Regions from separate parts of the Homo sapiens genome. Here regions 1 and 2 are each linked to region 3. The links are contacts of gene promoters, found by promoter capture Hi-C in human tissues and cell types (Jung and others, 2019). All regions are on one chromosome and are shown on one strand. Each heading gives the region's core, a stretch centred on a gene start or on the middle of the fragment in contact. The rest is flanking DNA. Distances are from core to core; before and after follow the strand shown.

What was found. The method cuts DNA at HindIII sites, captures the fragments that hold promoters and counts their contacts. A contact is called where the count stands out against the background at its distance.
Region 1: a contact is called between a fragment that was not itself captured here and the fragment with the promoter of KCNN2 in region 3, in 1 of the 25 tissues and cell types used here (dorsolateral prefrontal cortex).
Region 2: a contact is called between a fragment that was not itself captured here and the fragment with the promoter of KCNN2 in region 3, in 1 of the 25 tissues and cell types used here (aorta).

Annotation. Positions count from the first base shown.
Region 1 is chr5:114,770,895-114,773,966 of GRCh38, forward strand. It overlaps LOC101927078 (a long non-coding RNA gene), which reads right to left and starts at 2,519. Exons shown (of 13, transcript NR_130785.1): 1 at 2,441-2,519. The HindIII fragment of the contact is 3,867 bases long and covers 1-3,072 here.
Region 2 is chr5:114,060,798-114,063,957 of GRCh38, forward strand. It overlaps a transcript of KCNN2 not described here. Among named protein-coding and RNA genes, the nearest start is that of KCNN2, 300 kb to the right of the region's middle. The HindIII fragment of the contact is 4,033 bases long and covers 1-3,160 here.
Region 3 is chr5:114,360,500-114,363,636 of GRCh38, forward strand. KCNN2 (potassium calcium-activated channel subfamily N member 2) reads left to right here and starts at 1,571. Exons shown (of 8, transcript NM_021614.4): 1 at 1,571-2,762. The coding sequence starts at 1,641. RefSeq lists an enhancer at 1-600 and a silencer at 639-848. The HindIII fragment of the contact is 16,034 bases long and covers 1-3,137 here.

The DNA.
Region 1 (3,072 bases), core at 531-3,030, 410 kb after region 3:
TTATAACTTTCTCTTGTCTGATTGCTCTAGCTAGGATTTCCAGTACTATTTTGATTAGCAATGGTGAAAGTGCCCTCCTTGTCTTGTTCCAGGTTTTAGAGAAAAGGATTTCAGGTTTTCCCAACTTGGTATGGCACTAGCTGTGAGTCTGTTGTATATACCTTTTGCGTTGTGGAGGTTTGTTCCTTCTATATCCAGTTCTTTGAGGGTTTTTATCATGAAGCAATGTTGAATTTCATTAAATGTTTTTTCAGAACCAATTGAAATGATCGTACGGTTTTTGTCCTTCATTCTGTTGATATGATGTATCACATTGATTGATTTGTATATGTTGAGCCATCCTTGCATCCTTGGGATAAATCTTACTTGGTCATAATGAATGATCTTTTAATGTATTGTTGAATTCAGTTTGCTAGTATTTTGTTGAGGACACTGTTGTTATTCTTAACACGTCCATGGTCAGCAAGAACGCTCTCTGTGTTCAGAATCTCCGAGAACTTTCAGGTCTTCCCCTGTGCTGCATCACCAGTCCCACCAACCAGGCCTGGCAGTTTGGAATAATACCCCAGCCTTTATCCCACAGTGGTCCATGTCTCCAGAAACACTACCCAGACTATATCAGGAATTGGCTTTCAGTGATTTCTTAAAATGTCAGGGCCCTGGCTCCTGGGTTTCCCCAATAAGCAAAGCTTCCTCTTCCTATCCTTTATTGAAGCCCACTATCTTCACTGCCTAAGAACACTTGGCATTGTCCCTTCCTCTTATCTCTGGGCCACTTAAGCTTGACTATTTTCTAAACTTCTCTCTCCCCTAGACATCCAAATACTTTTGTTCCTATTAGTGCCCAGACCCAAAGATCTCGTCCTTGAGATTCCTGGTAATGCAATGTTTGGGACCAGTTAATTCCAGGGTTTAGAGCCTCACAGCGACTCACAGACCCTATTTCTTTGGAACTGGTGCTAAGTTCACCTCTTGCTTTCCTGTTCTTTCTTCCTTCTGAATTCATGGAGACTTGAATCAGTGGGTTTCCTTTAGGCCTGGGGATATTTTTCCTGCTACGTTTTAAGAGCTTCATCTCAGGCTACCTGTGGTCTCATGACATTTTAACCAGGTTGCTGGTCAAAGATGCACAGCACTCCAGGACTGAAAATTTTGAGGGATTCTTCAAATGCAGCCCAGGCCCTTAACTTACCAGAAGTTAGAAAAATAATAACATTTAATTTAGTGAATTCTTAATAAATTCTTCCCAGTGAGTTTATCCAGTGTTAAGCACCTCATATACATGATCACAATTATCCTCAAATCTCAATGAGATAAATATTTTTATTATGTCCATTTTACAGGTGAAGAAATTGAAATTCAAAAGGGCTAAACAATTTGCCCAAGATCACAAAACTAGTAGGGCCAAAGTCAAGTCTGAGTGCACTTACCTACTAGGCATACTGCCACTGAAATTATTTTTTTAACAAGCCCTCTGAAACCAACCCTAATATGTTACTAATCTGTGCATTTATAAGCCAGTTTCAGATGACTTCTCTAGTTAAGAGGCTGGCAAATGACATGATGGTCCAGCCCAGAAAAGCTTGTTGAGAACTGCTAAGCAGAGCTGGAAGCTCCCCGTCAAACATAGCTCACAAAGAAGGTTTTCTATGAGGCCCTAGGAGATTGTATTAGTCTGTTTTCCTACTGCTGATAGACTGCGCAATTTACAAAAGAAAGAGGTTTAATGTACTTACAGTTCCACGTGGCTGAGCAGGGCCTTACAATCATGGCAGAAGGTGAAAAGCACATCTTACATGGTGGCAGACAAGAGAATAATGACAGCCAAGTGAAAGGGGCTTCCCCTTATTAAACCATCAGATCTTGTGAGGCTTATTCACTGCTACAAGAACAGCATGGGGGAAACTGCCCCCATGATGCAATTATCTCCCACTGGGTTCCTCCCACAACACAAGGGAATTATAGGAGCTACAATTCGAGATTAGATTTGCATGGAGACACAGCTGAACCAAATCAGAGATGTTCTGAAACTCAGGGAAACTCAGAATAGGGAAAGATTGTCCAATATAGTCCTAAAGAGTCAAGATCAACCCTTGGAGTCATTGACTATTAATGACAGTCATCATCCCTACTTCTTCTCCCTGAGAGGCCATCAAACTCTCAAAATAGCCAAGCTTGGCTTCTGACCAGCTGACAGAACTAAGGCCCCAGAGACTTCTCTATTATTATGTGAGGGTTCACTGGAAGTTGCCAAGTTAACCAAGCTAATTTCTAAATTTCTAGTCAGGATGACAAAGGCAACTGAAACATCTGGCCCAATCATAAGTATGGCCCATATTAGCCATACTTGGGCTTCCCAGAGGATCACTTTAAAATTTTTAGGTATATTACAACTACATGAAACACCCTCAAGATTAGCCCCAGAACTTGTGCATCCCACCTCTGGCTTGAGCTCCCCAGGAACTCCCACACATCTAACATCCTGCAGTTGCACAATACTGCTGTTGGAACTTTTGGCTAAGTGGTCTTTCCTGAATGTCCTTTCCATTATGTCTCCATAGTTATACACCAGGTTACAAAGGAGAAGTTCCAGAACTCCGCTTCATACTCAAACCTTGGTTCTCCACCCTGTAAGTATAATCCTGAATCCTGACTTCTAGCTCCAGGGGTACCCACAACACTAGTATATCCCTTCTGTTTCATTCATTGTCTATAAGGCATTGACAAGGCAACTTGGTATAAAACACAACCCAAGAGATATAGATAGTAGTTCCAGAAGTGTCACTGACTAGGCAATTCATTGAAATGTATGTGCTCCAGTCTCCTCATCTCTGGGATGAGCAGTCTGAATGATTACGAGGCTTCTTGCCAGCTCCAGCTGTCCAGGTTTTCCGCTCCAATGTTTTGCTGCCATTTAAAGTGAGAAATAGCTTATTCCCTAATTATTCCTTTTCTTTTCTTCCCTATAGTGGCTGGTATTTCCACTTTGTTCCCTAATGTCTTAACCTTGGAGACATCTTTGATTTTGTTTTTGTTTTGTCTGGATAACTAGCCTAACAATGCCAAGTTCTA
Region 2 (3,160 bases), core at 605-3,104, 300 kb before region 3:
TAAGAAGGGCACAGTGGAAATTCAGCTATTATTATTTTCCAAGCCATTTAATTGTCAATGCTGTCTTTGTTGACCAACTTCAAGTAATGCTTCTAATTCTGAGAATTCAGCCTCCTTACTCAGTAGGGCCAGTGCTCTGGCAGTGGAGTAGTAGCCATTTTAGGCAGATGGGGAACTATTCCTGGGCACTTGGGCATTTGCTGTTCCATTTCTCACATTATGCTACATAGTATTCCATTGCACATAATTCATGGGCAGCTGGGAGTCTGAATAATAGTGAGGATTCAGAATTTATTCATTCAACATTCCATAAACAGTGATTGAATGTCTTACTATGCAAATGGGGATGCAGTGATGACTAAGACACAGTCTCTGCTTTCAAGGAAATCACAGTCTAGTTATTGGCCAGGGGGACAGACAAATAAACAGACAATTGCAAATACACATTCATGGGATCACTCCTAGTACCCCAACTCCAAGACGCTACCTCCCCACCCCCACTACTGCTGAGAAGAATGGTGTGAATATAGTAATATGGTGGTCCCTTGTATTTGCACATATATTTACAGTTTACAAATAATGTTTACTTTTAATTATTTCATTTGATTTTCACAACTTTATGAGATAGGTAGAGATACTACACCCATTTTATAAATGAAATCTAAGACTCCATTGAGCAGATGCCTCTATAACGAAGGCAAAAGTGTCTCATGCAGGACACTGCCATGATTTGTCCTTCCAGCCCTTTTGTACACTGTTCCCATTCAGGGATCTAGTTTGCCACCTTTGTGGGCATGGGGTTTGATTCTGTGAGTTCATTGCTTGGGTTTGATGGCCAAGTTTAGCTTCCCTGTTGGGACCTTTGTTTTCTGTAGATACATGGACAACTCTTGCATTCAGGTGGGTTTGTGCAACCATTCTGATCTCTGGGACTCAATTTTAGCACTGGCCTGGAGGCAAAGCCCAGGTGAGGACCATGATGGTTTCCCTGGGAAGAGGGATTGGTGATAGACATTAGGTTGATTGTCTATGCTTGTGCAACTGGGAAGTGGAGGATCTGGTAGAAGAACCTTCAGATAGCACAGTTTTACGAAGCTTGTCCAGTCAACTGGATGTTTTTCTTGACTAGAGAAAAAATACAGGAATCACTTTATCCTCCTTAAAAACTGAATGACTTATTTACATTTCCCCAAAGATGACCAACTGTAATTGGTCATTTATCAAATATTTAGACATCTTCTCATACAGAATACATCATTGATTAAAATTTGCTTATGGTTATTTATTTAAGATATATGGGTTCTTTTTTTTTTTTTATAAAATTTAGTCAAGGAAAGTAAACTTCACAGACTTGTCACGTAGTTATAATGTGGGAAAATGAGTTTGTTGCCCAGAACAACATGTATTTACCTAATCTACTTCTGTGTTTTTATCTTTGTGTAAGATACTATTACAGTAAGTATTTCTGCTGCCCACAGAATATCTGGGCAGGGCAGCGCAAAGACCTCCTGCCAGACATGCAGTGCAGCAAGAGGATGATTTTGGCTGTAGTGGTTCAGAAGTACTGAAAGAGCACCCTACCTCCACAGACCTGTTACCACAATAACTTTGATTATATTGTCTTATGTAGGAGAAAAATAGGTTTACTGATCATTTTCTTCGACTTTAAATATGAGGTTTGTGAAACACATGAGAAATAAGAGCCAAAGTTTATGAAAAGTGAGTTTTGAAGAGGGCCTTTTAATTTTCATTTGCTTCAGTGTACTAGGGATCAAGTTACATGTTAATTGACTGGTGAAGAAATCCTAGTAAGAAATTTGTCCTATATGCAGGGAGAACAGTCTGAATTAGCAAAAAGTCTCAATTACGGTGTGTGTGTTTTAATAAATATCTTTGTTTTACTTCCAATTCATGCGTTATTATACTTAAAAAGTGTTTTGCATTAGTCTCTTCTTTCATGTATAAGACCTCACATGTAGTTATTAACATCCATTGAATATAAACAGGTAAGTCCTTAAAAAAACCCTGTTTTTCTTTTAAGGCAGTTAAAATGTTAGGATACTAATTTGCTAGACAGAACTCTTCATTGCACTTAGGTAAACTTCATTCCAAGCTAATTCAAAAGAGCATGATTTCCAAATTACTGAAACCTGAATGATTTTTGCTATAAATTCCCATTAAAAATCAAGCATCCAGTCAAAGATAAAGCTTGATTTTCTGCTTAACTTTAAGGAAGAGTTTTTTCTTTCCATGTCAGAGAAAAATTTGCTCACTTGTATTGACAGTTTTAGTGTGTCCTGAAAGAGACAGGCCTTAGCAACTGCAGGCAGCTGTGCTCAGCTCCTCCCTCATTCCACACTCTAGCCCCTACTGTGGATGTAAAAAAGTTTCATGCAGCCCCTCAGACAAATGACTGACAAAAACTAAGCCCCAGATGATGATTATCATGTATGTGTCTGCAGCTGAGGCTGCTCTTTGACAGGGCATCTCTGGCCAGTCAGCATTGATTGACTCATCCTGCTATGCTTTTTATATGCCTGTTGCAATACAGAAATATGATTTTGCCATATGTGGGATAGTAGAGACAGAGGAAGATGAAAGCATGGCAGCCCAGATCAGTGCTTCTTAAATTCATGGTTTTCAAAACACAGATTTCTGGGTCCCACTCCCAGAGATTCTGACTCAGTGTCTAGAGAACCACCCCCCCTCCAAATTTCCATTTCTAACAAAGGCTCCCAGGTGATGCTGATGCTGCAAGTCTGTGGAACATACTTCAGGCAGCACTGGCCTAGATAGCTAATTTTGAGAAGACTCAGGTGAGGATAATGGAACTGCATTTCAGAAATAAAATTCATCAGAACATGACTAGTCCACCAGAGGGAGATAAGGCAATGCTAGGCTGACCAGCTGCACCAGTTTGACCCAGACCATCCTGATTTTAGCACTGAAAGTCTTGTGTCCTAGGAAACCACTCAGTCCCAGACAAACTGGAAAGTTGGTCACCCTAAAAGGCATACTAAGCTAGTTTACTATGGCAGCTTTAATGTAATTTAAAGTGATTGGTGTGTAGTCTAACTTTTAAACTCCTGGTGTGTTTTAAGACAAGCCATTGAGCATACTGTGAAATGACAGGTAACCACATGTAACAGAGGCAATGCCA
Region 3 (3,137 bases), core at 321-2,820:
GGAAACAAATATTCAACGGGCCAATTTCTTTCACCTTCTTTAGGGGGAGACGGGAATTTGAATTCACAAAGAAATGCAAATGTAAAGACTTAAGATGGAGCAGAAACAAAGAACATAAGGATCACCTAGTGCATTGTGTTGGTACATCTCTTAGAAGAAGACAGCACAGGGAATTTGTGAGACACCAAATGCAATTTTTGTTAGTTTATTAGAGAGTAAATAAATAAATAATGATACCGAACTCCAACAAAACTCCAGCACTGTCCGTGGGCAGCGACTATTCAGCCCAAGCTATCATTCTTAATTTCCCTGCCAGGCTGCGACTACCGGGGTGAATCAGCCCGCGCCAGGCCCCTTTCCCACCCGCCGCTGCAGTTAGGACTTGGCAAAGATGCTCGATATTTGCGTATTTGTGACCGGTCTTTGCTTTGTGTCTGCGCTGCAGGTGAGGAGGAGGAAGAGAAGCAGAAGAGCAGCTGGAGGCCGGCGGTGGCTGAGCAGCCCCCACACCTTTGAGCGAGCCGCCTGCCTCTCCACCGGCAAGGAAGCCCTGGGACCTCCGGATTCGGGCTGCCGGAGGGCCTGAGCGCCAGAGCCCAGGACCCGGCGGCCGGGGGCGCCATCCCCTCATGTTCTGGAGAAGGCGCAAATGTGAGCTGGCGGTAGCGGGGAAAGCCCTCCGCCCCCGCCAGGGGGGACCCGGGAAGCCCGGCCGGCTCTGTCGGCAGACTGCGGGGATCCCCTCCTCCGGCCCCGCCCCCACCCACCCCCGGCCGGGGTGCCGAGGCGGTTAACCCTACCCGCGCCGCAGCGCACTTGGGCTAGAGCGCCGCGCACCCAATCCAGATTCCAGAGCCTGCCGGCTGGGAAAGATCCGGTCTCGGGGTCGGCTATGATCCCGCAGCGGCCAAGGCAGGGCTCAGGCCCCGGGATTCTCCCCACACGCTGCTGCACTGGCGCAGCCGGTCGCCAAACTTTTTCTCCCCAAAGCCAGTGCCCCCGCAGTTACTTGGCGGGCAGCCGGCAGCCCACTCTCGGCGGGATGATCTGGGAGAAGCGGGCGTGGGACGAGGGGGCTGCTGTTTTGCAGCCCTGCGAGGCGTGCAGTCGGAGAAGTGGTCGGGGTTCCACACCGTCCCTGAGCCTGCCCCCGGCCAAGGTGGCCCGACGTGCTGCAGTGGCTGGCGCAGGTGATCCGGGCAGCGCGTCCGGCACTAGTCAAGGGGGCAGCGGCACGGGAGGGAGGGGCGCCTTTCTCTTTTCTCCTCCCCCTGCAGCCCAGCTGCACTGCGTGGGGGCTCTCCATCTCCACGCAATCAGCAGGCGGAATCCCTGCCCTGGAGCGCCCTGGCTCTGGACTGCACCCCCCTAGGGTTTGTCCTGCAGATTCCCCTCCCCATCTTTCTCTGCCACACACGCTTCCCTAAGCCGCGCGCGCCGCAAACTCAGTCTCGGTCCCCGCAGGTGATGTCATGCCCATTGTTTTGGTGCGCCCAACCAATCGGACTCGCCGCCTGGATTCTACCGGAGCCGGCATGGGCCCTTCCTCGCACCAGCAGCAGGAGTCCCCGCTCCCGACCATAACGCATTGCGCAGGGTGCACCACCGCTTGGTCTCCCTGCAGCTTTAACAGCCCTGACATGGAAACCCCATTGCAGTTCCAGCGCGGCTTCTTCCCAGAGCAGCCGCCGCCGCCGCCGCGCTCCTCACACCTGCATTGCCAGCAGCAGCAACAGAGCCAGGACAAGCCGTGCCCGCCCTTCGCGCCCCTCCCGCACCCTCACCACCACCCGCACCTCGCGCACCAGCAGCCGGCCAGCGGCGGCAGCAGCCCATGCCTCCGGTGCAACAGCTGCGCCTCCTCCGGTGCCCCGGCGGCGGGGGCGGGAGATAACCTGTCCCTGCTGCTCCGCACCTCCTCGCCCGGCGGCGCCTTCCGGACCCGCACCTCCTCGCCGCTGTCGGGCTCGTCCTGCTGCTGCTGCTGCTGCTCGTCGCGCCGGGGCAGCCAGCTCAATGTGAGCGAGCTGACGCCGTCCAGCCATGCCAGTGCGCTCCGGCAGCAGTACGCGCAGCAGTCCGCGCAGCAGTCGGCGTCCGCCTCCCAGTACCACCAGTGCCACAGCCTGCAGCCCGCCGCCAGCCCCACGGGCAGCCTCGGCAGTCTGGGCTCCGGGCCCCCGCTCTCGCACCACCACCACCACCCGCACCCGGCGCACCACCAGCACCACCAGCCCCAGGCGCGCCGCGAGAGCAACCCCTTCACCGAAATAGCCATGAGCAGCTGCAGGTACAACGGGGGCGTCATGCGGCCGCTCAGCAACTTGAGCGCGTCCCGCCGGAACCTGCACGAGATGGACTCAGAGGCGCAGCCCCTGCAGCCCCCCGCGTCTGTCGGAGGAGGTGGCGGCGCGTCCTCCCCGTCTGCAGCCGCTGCCGCCGCCGCCGCTGTTTCGTCCTCAGCCCCCGAGATCGTGGTGTCTAAGCCCGAGCACAACAACTCCAACAACCTGGCGCTCTATGGAACCGGCGGCGGAGGCAGCACTGGAGGAGGCGGCGGCGGTGGCGGGAGCGGGCACGGCAGCAGCAGTGGCACCAAGTCCAGCAAAAAGAAAAACCAGAACATCGGCTACAAGCTGGGCCACCGGCGCGCCCTGTTCGAAAAGCGCAAGCGGCTCAGCGACTACGCGCTCATCTTCGGCATGTTCGGCATCGTGGTCATGGTCATCGAGACCGAGCTGTCGTGGGGCGCCTACGACAAGGTACAGGCTTGAACCCCAGCCCACGCTACCGGAGTCGGGCACTGGGTGGTTGGGATGGGCACTGGCGGGGACCCTTTGCGTGCGGATCCCTAGCCTCTCCGGGACGATCAAGGGAGCCCGCCAGGACAGCGGGCGCGTCTAGGACGCGCATCCGTAGTCAGCTAAACAACTCGGAGATGAACCCTTTCCGCGTGCAGCCAAAGTTCTCGAGGCAGTTAAGAGTGCTCAGCGCATTCGGGCACCTTAAGTAAGTGGTTCTGGAAGTCGGTGGGGAAACCATCTGTAATTCATCCCCTCGTGAATTATGTTTAGAAGGGCCCTTTCAACCCGCTCTCTTGAACTCAGAAGTAAGTTCCTCTGGTTTTGCTAGCCTGG